Regions from separate parts of the Homo sapiens genome. Here region 2 is linked to region 1. Evidence: promoter capture Hi-C in human tissues and cell types (Jung and others, 2019). All regions are on one chromosome and are shown on one strand. The core of a region is centred on a gene start or on the middle of the fragment in contact, and the rest is flanking DNA. Distances in the headings are between cores, read along the strand shown. Region 1 holds the start of POU5F1B (POU class 5 homeobox 1B). Region 2 has its middle 30 kb from the start of CASC8.

What was found. Contacts are between HindIII fragments. The study calls those that stand out against the background at their distance.
Region 2: a contact is called between a fragment that was not itself captured here and the fragment with the promoter of POU5F1B in region 1, in 3 of the 25 tissues and cell types used here (lymphoblastoid cells, small bowel and thymus).

The regions. Positions count from the first base shown.
Region 1 is chr8:127,412,902-127,418,100 of GRCh38, reverse strand. POU5F1B (POU class 5 homeobox 1B) reads right to left here and starts at 2,234. Exons shown (of 1, transcript NM_001159542.3): 1 at 1,155-2,234. The coding sequence starts at 2,234. The coding sequence ends at 1,155. The region is part of intron 5 of CASC8 (cancer susceptibility 8); the gene reads left to right. The HindIII fragment of the contact is 11,415 bases long and covers 1-5,199 here.
Region 2 is chr8:127,509,601-127,514,799 of GRCh38, reverse strand. No RefSeq gene overlaps it. Among named protein-coding and RNA genes, the nearest start is that of CASC8, 30 kb to the right of the region's middle. The HindIII fragment of the contact is 3,582 bases long and covers 344-3,925 here.

The DNA of each region.
Region 1 (5,199 bases), core at 985-3,484:
GTGGACTTAAGTTCCTAATGTTCACTATGAATAATGAGTCTAATGTGAAATCTTAATGCATTTAAGGTAGATATGATGTTCTTTTAAAAATGAATTTTCAGGGCCGGGCGTGGTGGTTCACGCCTACAATCCCAATACTTTGGGAGGCCAAGGCAGGCAGATCACCTGAGGTCAAGAGTTCGAGACCAGCCTGGCCAACATGGTGAAACCCCATCTCTACTAAAAATACAAAAATTAGCCGGGCGTGGTAGTGGGCGCCTGTAATCCCAGCTACTCAGGAGGTTGAGGCAGGAGAATTACTTGAACCTGGGAGGCAGAGGTTGCAGTGAGCCGAGATCACACCACTGCACTCCAGCCTGAGCTATAAAGGAAGGCACTACCTCAAAAAAAGAAAAAAAATTATCCGGGCCAGGTGCAATGGCTCATGCCTGTAATCCCAGTACTTTGGGAGGCCCAGGCAGGAGGATCCCTTGAGCTCAGGAGTTTGAGACCAGCCTAGACAATATGGCAAAACCCCATCTCCACCAAAAATACAAAAATTAGCCAGTCTCATAACCTGGTCTCAAAATAAATAAGTAAATAAATAAAATTTTAAAAAATTAAATTAAAAAATGAATTATCTGTATCATGGGGAATGGTTAATGCTCACATTTTTGTGGAATATGTGAGGGAATGGTGAGGGCCGAACTATGCCGTTAGCGGTCAAAAGAGGTTTTGTATCAGGACAAATAGGATGTCTTGAAGAAAAACTACAGCTACCATCAAGTAGCACTCTAGGAAAAGGTAAAAAGGAGGAAAAAAGCAAGTATTTATTGAATACCTACTACGTGCCACACATTTTACCACACTTAAAAAATTATTACTCAATTATGTTACTTTTCTTTTCTTTCTTTTTTTTTTTTTTTTACTGTGTCCCAGGCTTCTTTATTTAAGAAAAAAGTGATACATGATGTGGGATTAAAATCAAGAGCATCATTGAACTTCACCTTCCCTCCAACCAGTTGCCCCAAACTCCCCTGCCCCCACCCTTAGTGTTCCCAATTCCTTCCTTAGTGAATGAAGAACTTAATCCCAAAAGCCCTGCCACAAACTCCAGGTTCTCTTTCCCTAGCTCCTCCCCTCCCCTGTTCCCCATTCCTAGAAGGGCAGGCACCTCAGTTTGAATGCATGGGAGAGCCCAGAGTGATGACGGAGACTGGGGGAAAGACTTCCCCCTCAGGGAAAGGGACTGAGGAGTACAGTGCAGTGAAGTGAGGGCTCCCATAGCCTGGGGTACCAAAATGGGGCCCTGGGGCCGGAGGAAAGGACACTGGTCCCCCTGAGAAAGGAGACCCAGCAGCCTCAAAATCCTCTCGTTGTGCATAGTCGCTGCTTGATCGCTTGCCCTTCTGGCGCCGGTTACAGAACCACACTCGGACCACATCCTTCTCGAGCCCAAGCTGCTGGGCGATGTGGCTGATCTGCAGTGTGGGTTTCGGGCACTGCAGGAACAAATTCTCCAGGTTGCCTCTCACTCGGTTCTCGATACTGGTTCGCTTTCTCTTTCGGGCCTGCATGAGGGTTTCTGCTTTGCATATCTCCTGAAGATTTTCATTGTTGTCAGCTTCCTCCACCCACTTCTGCAGCAAGGGCCGCAGCTTACACATGTTCTTGAAGCTAAGCTGCAGAGCCTCAAAGCGGCAGATGGTCTTTTGGCTGAACACCTTCCCAAATAGAACCCCCAGGATGAGCCCCACATCGGCCTGTGTATATCCCAGGGTGATCCTCTTCTGCTTCAGGAGCTTGGCAAATTGCTCGAGTTCTTTCTGCAGAGCTTTGATGTCCTGGGACTTCTCCGGGTTTTGCTCTAGCTTCTCCTTCTCCAGCTTCACGGCACCAGGGGGGACGGTGCAGGGTTCCGGGGAGGCCCCATTGGAGTTGCTCTCCACCCCGACTCCTGCTTCGCTCTCAGGCTGAGAGGTCTCCAAGCCGCCTTGGGGCACTAGCCCCACTCCAACCTGAGGCCCACAGTACGCCATCCCCCCACATAACTCATACGGCGGGGGGCAAGGGGGAATCCCCCACACCTCAGAGCCTGGCCCAACCCCCGGCCCGATTCCTGGCCCTCCAGGAGGGCCTTGGAAGCTTAGCCAGGTCAGAGGATCAACCCAGCCCGGCTCCGCCCCCCATGGCCCATCACCCCCACCGCCTGGAGGGGGCGAGAAGGCGAAATCCGAAGCCAGGTGTCCCGCCATGGGGAAGGAAGGCGCCCCAAGCCGGGGGCCTGGTGAAATGAGCAATTATGTTACTTTTCATTGAAAGCTCTGTGACCGTATGGCTGTGTGTGTCATACGCTCACTAGCAATGAACACAGTGCCTGAAGCATCATTAAATGTTGACTGAATGTGTTAGGAACTCTTCAAAAGTAATCTCTTTAAATCATAATCACCTGTGAATTGACAATTATTATCTTCACTTTGTGGATAAGAATGCCAAGATTTGGAAATGTTGAATAATGTGTCCATTGTGTCAGTGGCCGATCTGAAATTCCAGTGTAGGCACCATGATTCCTGAGTCCATTCTGCTTCTGCCATACCATGATGCTAGATTCTTCATGGGAGCCATCTACTTGTGTTCTGTGCTATGGAATGGTGTGTCCTTCTTTCTGATTCTTATTTCCTGCAGATTGTGGGGAAACGGTTCTACCATTAACAACCAAAGGCAAAATGGGCTGCAACCAAAGAAATTCCCTGACCTAATTCTTTATAGTTGGTGACAAGTGTGCTGTAGTGACGGGAAATAGCACTCTATGAAGATTTAATAGTGCAAATTCTACCCTCCTGACAACCCCTTTCTTCAGCACTGGATGGGTGTATTAGTTGTTTATCATTGTGTAATAGATCACCTCAAAACTTAATAGCTTAAAAACAACTAACACATAGCTCACAGTTTTGTAAAATAGCAATTGTGGTGTGGCTTAACTGGGTATCCTGGATAAGGGTATTTCATGAGGTTGTGGTCAAGATGAGAGCAGGGGATGTTGTCATCTGGGAGCCTAACGGGGGCTGGAGGATCCACTTTCCAAAATGTCTCACTTACTTGGCTGTTGGCAAAGGCCCCGGTTTCTTGTTGGCTGTTGGTAGGAGGCCTCAGTTGCTCACCATGTGGGCTTTTCCATAAAGCTGCTTGAGTGTCCTCACAACATGTCAGCTGGATTCACCCAGAGAGAATGACCTAAGAAAGAGAGAGCAGGGAAGAAGCCACTGCGTTCTTTATGACCTAGTCTCTGAAATCGCACACTTTTACTTGTGCCATATTTTATTCATTAGAAGTGAGTCACATTCTGTAGGAGGGTAATTAGCCTTCACCATTTGGCAGGAGGACTATCAAATAATTGGTGGGCATATTGTAAAGCTATCATAATGGTTCTGGTAGGCCATGTTTTTGCCTCTGCCACTCAAATATTGGATGTCCATTTCTTAAAGGGATTGTGAAAAGAGAAGGGGCTTTAGAATAAGACAGGCAAATGTTTAAACATTGAGTAAATTTTTAATGTCCTTAACCCTTGTTTCTCAACCATAAAATGAGAATGATCATATCAAATCTTCACAGTTTTGCAGGATGGGTTGCAGGTAATAAAGTCCTAGTGCAATGTCTGGCACAAGGTAAGTGTTTAAGCAGTGGGCTCCTTTCTGTTACATAATGTGGCAACCCTCTTCTCCCCTCTCTACCTCTCAAATATGTGTCTGAGTCAGAACACCAAAGTCACACACACACAGGTACAAAACAATTCCTGATTCTATTCCATTTCCATCATGCCATGCTGCCAGTTTCTCCATGGGGCCATCTTTACTTCTGTAGTAAGGAATATAGTTACTTGTTACAGAAATTAGATTCCAGAATTGGGATATGAGTTGGAAAGGGAACTTAAACGTTCTCCTTCAGTCTTGCTCAAATTCTCATGCTTATTTGACGTTCTTGAGTGTTTCCAATAAGATAGATATGACTTTACCTCTAGATTCTCCCACTTGTTATCCTGCCAACCTTAAGTCCCCTTTCTCAGGGTAATAACTTTCTGCTCAATTCTGTTGTGAGGTTTAAGTCAAGTAAGATGTGTGTAATTTTCTCATGAAACAGTAGCTATTATTTATTGTTTATCATTTTATCATTAACTTCTGTTCCTTTAGACCTGACTAAAATATTTCTAGTGTCATTTGAAAATATTGTATTATATCGGGTGTTGTGTGTGTGTGTGTGTGTGTGTACCACCTTTTTTTAAGAAGCACAAAATGTGTTTGACCAGTTACTTAGATTATTTATTTCTCACAAAATGAAGTCAAGTCCATATTGTCTCATTTAGCAGAAAAGTGAAATAGAAGGTTAATAGGTTGGCCTAAGCCTCACAGCTGGTAAGTATAGCTACCTAGATTTGAACCATGAAAATCGTTTGAGGTGATGCTCTGCTTTATTTAATCTGTTCAGACAATGGCATTGTGGTTTCATGGGGAGACAGGCTAGATTTTGTGACCTGAACGTCTACTCGTTTGACTATGTAGTACAACTAAAAATTGTGAATCCGCTAACTAAGTCTTTGTGTTTAATTTAGTTTAGTGCAATAATAATTTCTAGGGATATCACAGGCCAGGCACTGGGATAGATAATGAGGTACAGCTAGGTGAAGGGGGCAGGATGGAAATGCTGAGGTACAGAAGGGTCATAAAGCCCATTGTAATGTTCCATTTTTGTCTCTAGATAATGACAAGCAGACAGTAACACACTGGTAGCAAACATTGAAGACTGGTGGCCCAGGGGCTCTGATGTTGATGAAATTCCTGATGAAATTGAGTTTGGTAATTATACAGTTGACCTGCTTGAAAGAAAGATATCACAGTAGAACAATTTCCTTGGTTCTGCCATTTCATTTATCACCATTGTTTGTCTTTGTTGTCAGTATTAACATCAATTATTAATCTTAATGCTCATTTTCCTTCCTAGCCTTCTTTCCTGTCTGACATGTGGAATCTCTTGCTATTAAATTGAGAGGCAGGTGGAAACATTAGTCCTTCTTACGTCATTGGTCATTATTTCTTCTGAACGAAGAGTTTTTTTCAGTGGGGGCAGGACAATTGGAAAAATCCATTCCAAGTGGCATAAAGACTGGTTTCTTTGCTCTGTACAAAGTATCCCAGTATCACTTAAGTAGCTATTTCTCTGAGGTTG
Region 2 (5,199 bases), core at 885-3,384, 97 kb before region 1:
TGATCCACTGTGTAAACCCAAATCAAGAAATTATCTTGCTCTTTCCATCCTCTCCTGAATATGTTGATTGTTTCCTCTCTTGCTTGATAAATATTGGCTGTCCAGATTGCGTTTGGAGAAGATACGGGCCTGGGAAATGTGAAACATAGCACAGATGCAGGCACGGTTTCTTTTGTAGGCAGATGTCCCAGGGCCGGGGGTCAATTTAGGGGGATTATTCAAGGGTGTTTCATGTGCCGTCATTCTTTTCTCTTGTCCAGCTGCTTTTCCCCAATGGCTGCTAGGACGATGACTATGAGTGGTAACCTTGACTTGCCTGAAATGGAAAGGTCATTGAGAGGTCTGTCATGACCAGTCTTAAGCTCTGCCCCCCTCATTCATGCAGGGGAGGAAAAGCTGGAATCTCAACTAACAGTCTGATCAATGGAGACATTTGTGACCCAGTTCTGACCATGTCTTTCCTGGAAGCCAAATCCTTCAAAGGCTTACTACTTCCAATGGATAAAGTCCAAGTTCCTTGGCATAGCATAGAAAACCTTTCATATCCTCCCTCCATCTTTTGCTTCATTTCTGTTTGCATCCACAGTTGGCTTCTAGGTGCCACTCACTTTGAACTACATTAGGCCTTTGCACTTGTTGTACATAGAAAGCAGCTTCATCTCCTTCCTCAGCATCATGATCTTTTCTTCCTTGCTGGAAACCCTTCCTATGGACCCTTTTCCTGACAGCCTACTTCTTCTCAAGCTGAGTGGTTTCCTCCCTACTTTGCTTTATGTGTGAACTTGGCACTGCCGTTTGCATCCCATCTTTCCTTCTAGTCTATGGGCCTTAATCTCCCTCATCTCTGGATTCCTCTGCGCACAACAGGCACTAAATACATTTTTTTTCATTGAGTAAGTGAATGAGTGATGTCAGACCTTTGTAAAATATTTTATTTATTTAATATATTTTTTTCTCTATTATCTAAATTTTATGTTCATAATAAGCCCACAGGTGGGATTATTTCCCCCATTTTGGACATTAGAAATTTAAAGACCACAGTGGCATTGTGACTCTCTAATTTGGCAGACTGGTGACCAGCATACAGTTCTTAAGTCTTAGGCAGTTGAAGCCAGAAGAGAGCTTGGTTGATTAAACATGCCAGTAGTGTTCTTATTGTTCATGTGCCACATTGATTGCCACTGTCGAGTTCTTTGATTGGTTTTGAATTATGCTTATGTAGAGAAAAATTTTAGGCTATTTGCATGGATCCTTATTGCCTGCAGAGAAAGTTCTAACACCTTAGCAAGGCATTCAAAATTCTGGCCCTGATATAGAATGTCAGCTTTATCTTTAGCCACTTAGCATCCATATTGCAATACTCCTTTACTATAGACTAGGGTGGCAAACCTTTTCTGTTAAGGGCTAGATAGTTAATATTTTGGGTTTTGTGAGCTAGATAATCTTTCTTGCAACAACCCTGCAACTATGGTTTGAAAGCAGGCATAGATATTACTTAAATGAATAGGTGTGGCTGTGATTTAACAAAGCTTTATTTATAGAAACAGTATACTGAATTTGTCTCAGGGTCATAGTTTACCAATCCCTGTTATAAATCATTTCTGAAAATATCATGGATTATTTCCTTTTTCCCTTTCCTCAGTTCCCTGTCCTTATCTATGTTTCTCACATCTATCTCGTTTCCTTCCTACCTTTCTTTCACCTTTTTAAGGTGTGTTCAACAGGTATCCATCCCTGTGAGTCATCCTTAAATCACTGCAACTGCCCTGTTGCTGGGTCTAGGCATCATACAAAGGGAAACTCCATTAACGAATCTCATTGTTCATGGTCTTAGTTTCAAATCTTTTGCCCCAAATCAATCTTCACACTGTATTCCACTTTGTTTTTAATTTTCTTTCTGATGTCCTGGCTCATTTTTCTTCTATCAGTTTATCCTCCTTCATCCTTTAGAATTGATGGCTCTTCTCACCTTCACAGTGATGATTCTGAGTTCCCCTTTGTAGGATCAGAGTCAGGCCCCTCCGGCTCTGCTGCCTCGGGCCACCTCAGGTGAATCTCTGCTTAGTTTTATCTGGTGCTGTGATGCCCTAATTTGGTGCCATTTTTTCACCATTTTCTAGCTAACCTGTCTGCCTGATTGCCATGGCCTTGCCAGTTGAAATCAAACAATGTGTGCCTGATCCCATGCCAGATTCTAAGAGGATAGAGGGGTTGACATAGTCTGTGTTCTTATTCTGTAGCCCAGTCTAGCAAATAAGTGATACAACTAATTCTAATATCATACGAGAAGGGAGCATCTCTGGGGAGCCATATTTGAGAGTGATGACTCCAAGATGAAAGAGTATGGTAAAAGATGGTTTCAGTTCCAACATCTGAGTTTTACTTCCTTGTTGAAAAAATTGCTACAGTTCCTGTTGTCTCCTATGCCACTTCCAGCTTCCACCACCTCTCCTTCAATGTCTTCAGTTGCCTCTCATTGGTTTGCTAGCCCATTGAATTATACTTCTCAATAGTCCCCAATGTAAATTTCTTCCTCAGGTACCTGAGCCATTTTAGTGTTCCCTGCATACAGCGTGCCAGTTGCTACCTACATGCCCAACACCCAGCATCTTATGTCACCTCGAAAGGTCATGTAACCAGCCTGAATTTAAAAAACTTTAAATATTTGGCTGGGCACAGTGGCTCACGCCTGTAATCCCAGCACTTTGGGAGGCCGAGGCAGGCGGATGACAAGGTCAGGAGATCGAGACCATCCTGGCTAACACAGTGAAACCCCGTCTCTACTAAAAAATACAAAAAATTAGCCGGACGTGGTGGCGGCCGCCTGGTAGTCCCGGCTACTCGGGAGGCTGAGGCAGGAGAATGGTGTGAACCCGGGAGGCAGAGCTTGCAGTGAGCCGAGACTGCGCCACTGCACTCCAGCCTGGGCGACAGAGTGAGACTCCGTCTCAAAAAAACACAAAAACAAAAACAAAAAAAAAACTTTAAATATTTACTAAAACACCATATCTAAAACTTTTTGTCTTGTTCTTGCCACTTAATAAGTCCTCGATAAATACCCATTTCTTCCTGCTCACAACTCTTTTCTTTCTTTCTACCTGTCTAAATCCTAACCACGCTCCAAGACAAGCTTAACTTTTTCTTCCTTCGTGAAGATTTCTAGCCAATGTAGCCAACACTGACTTTTCTTCCTATTCTTAAGAAGCTACGAAACAAAGGCTTAAAGCATAATACATCTAATTCTTGACTATATTCTGCTGTGTATGCTATTTTATTGCTTCCTATTTAGACAGACTTGCTCTGTCCGTGGGTAGCTATGTGATCTTGGAGAAGTTACTTAATTTCTCTGAGCCTCTAATGCCTCATTGGTAAAATGAGACTAATAAGTTTTCTCCTACCTAACACAGAGTTCACCTTTCAGTCACTTTCTGTCACATGTTAGAAAATGCGTTATCATGTTCTCACTCATAGGTGGGAATTGAACAATGAGAACACTTGGACACAGGAAGGGGAATATCACACACCGGGGCCTGTCATGAGGTGGGGGGAGGGGGAGGGATAGCATTAGGAGATATGCCTAATGTAAATGACAAGTTAATGAGTGCAGCACACCAACGTGGCACATGTATACATATGAAACAAACCTGCACATTTTGCACATGTTCCCTAGAACTTAAAGTATAACAAACTTGCACATTTTGCACATGTACCCTAGAACTTAAAGTATAATTTAAAAAAAAAATAAAGAAAAAGAAAATGCGTTATCTAGTGCGGTTACTTTTTTTTTTTTTTTTTTGTCTGTTGTCTTTCTTCTCTCACCAGCAAGCAATAATTGACATGAGGCTGAAGATCTCATCTGGTGTGTTCAGTGCTATATCCCCAGTGCCTAGAAGGTGTGATTAAATATTAGTTGAATAAAAGATTGTAAGTCACTTGCAGGTGAGTTTTGAACATTAACTGAGATGTAGTTAAATGATTGGCCAGTACATGGTCACTGATGAGATTTCAATAAATGTGAATTTCCATAACACAACCATTGCTACCTATTTCTGTCACCACCATTGCTACTACTATTACTACTGTTGACTAAGGCAGATGGAACACTCTCCCCTTCTAAGGCAATGATGCTGGTAAGAGCAAATCTACCTACAGTGGAAGTGATCTCCTTGGAGCTGCCAGACTCTGAGAGTGAGCTGTGTGGGCCTCTCAGTGAATACAAATACTAATAAACAAATGCAAACACCAACAAATGATGTGATTAAACAGCATCTGGAAGGATAAGGAGAGTTAGAGTAGTCATGATTTCATTTAGTGAGTTTCTACCTTCTTATTTCTCTGTTCTTCATTATTCTGAGACCAAATGACCATTTGGATGTAAATTCGAATTGATTGCTCAGCAAATTGGCCAAAAGGTTAGACCCTCCTCTTAGCCTACCAGTTGATACCATCTTCTGTTTTTTCCTTCTTGACTTATCACTCTGTAGCAATGAATCAGTGTTGCTAAAAGTACATGTTGCAAATTCCTTTCATGTCCTTATTAATTCACTGTTGACACAATTAATCAACTATTTCCTCCTAGCTTTTTATTGCCTAATCTTGACTTTGTTATTAATATGTAAGGTAGACAAAATACTCCCACTTTCTAAATGAAGAAATAGATACTTGCTGAAGTGTCCATGATTTCAAGGGCACAGAGTGGTGGGGCCGGAATGCTTCAAGCTTCAATTCTTGCCTCCTTCCACTTCCTCACAGTTTCCTTCCAACCAGATTTTCCCCTGAGATTTACCATCTCCAGCAAACACTTGTTGAATGTCTACTACATGTCAGACACTCTGATAGGTGACTGGAGAAAACAGAAAAGAGTTAGACATCATGCCTGTCCATTCAACTATCCAGACTGGTTGGAGAAACAGAGAAGAACATAGAGTATGTCAACAGAATGTAACATGTGCTATATTAATAATGCATACAAAGAGTTACAATTGCAAAGCAAAAAGAGTGGCTTCCTGACACTAAAAAAACACCTTGGAGAAATTGTCACATATGAACTGACATTAATAGCTAAGTATGGCACATGGATAGGGGTTTTCCAGGTGGAGAAAGTGGGAGTGGCACACCAGGAAGCAGGAAGTGGAATTATAAGCAAGCCCAGGTATATGGTGAGTAATGTACTGAGCGTCTCATATTGGTGGGACACTG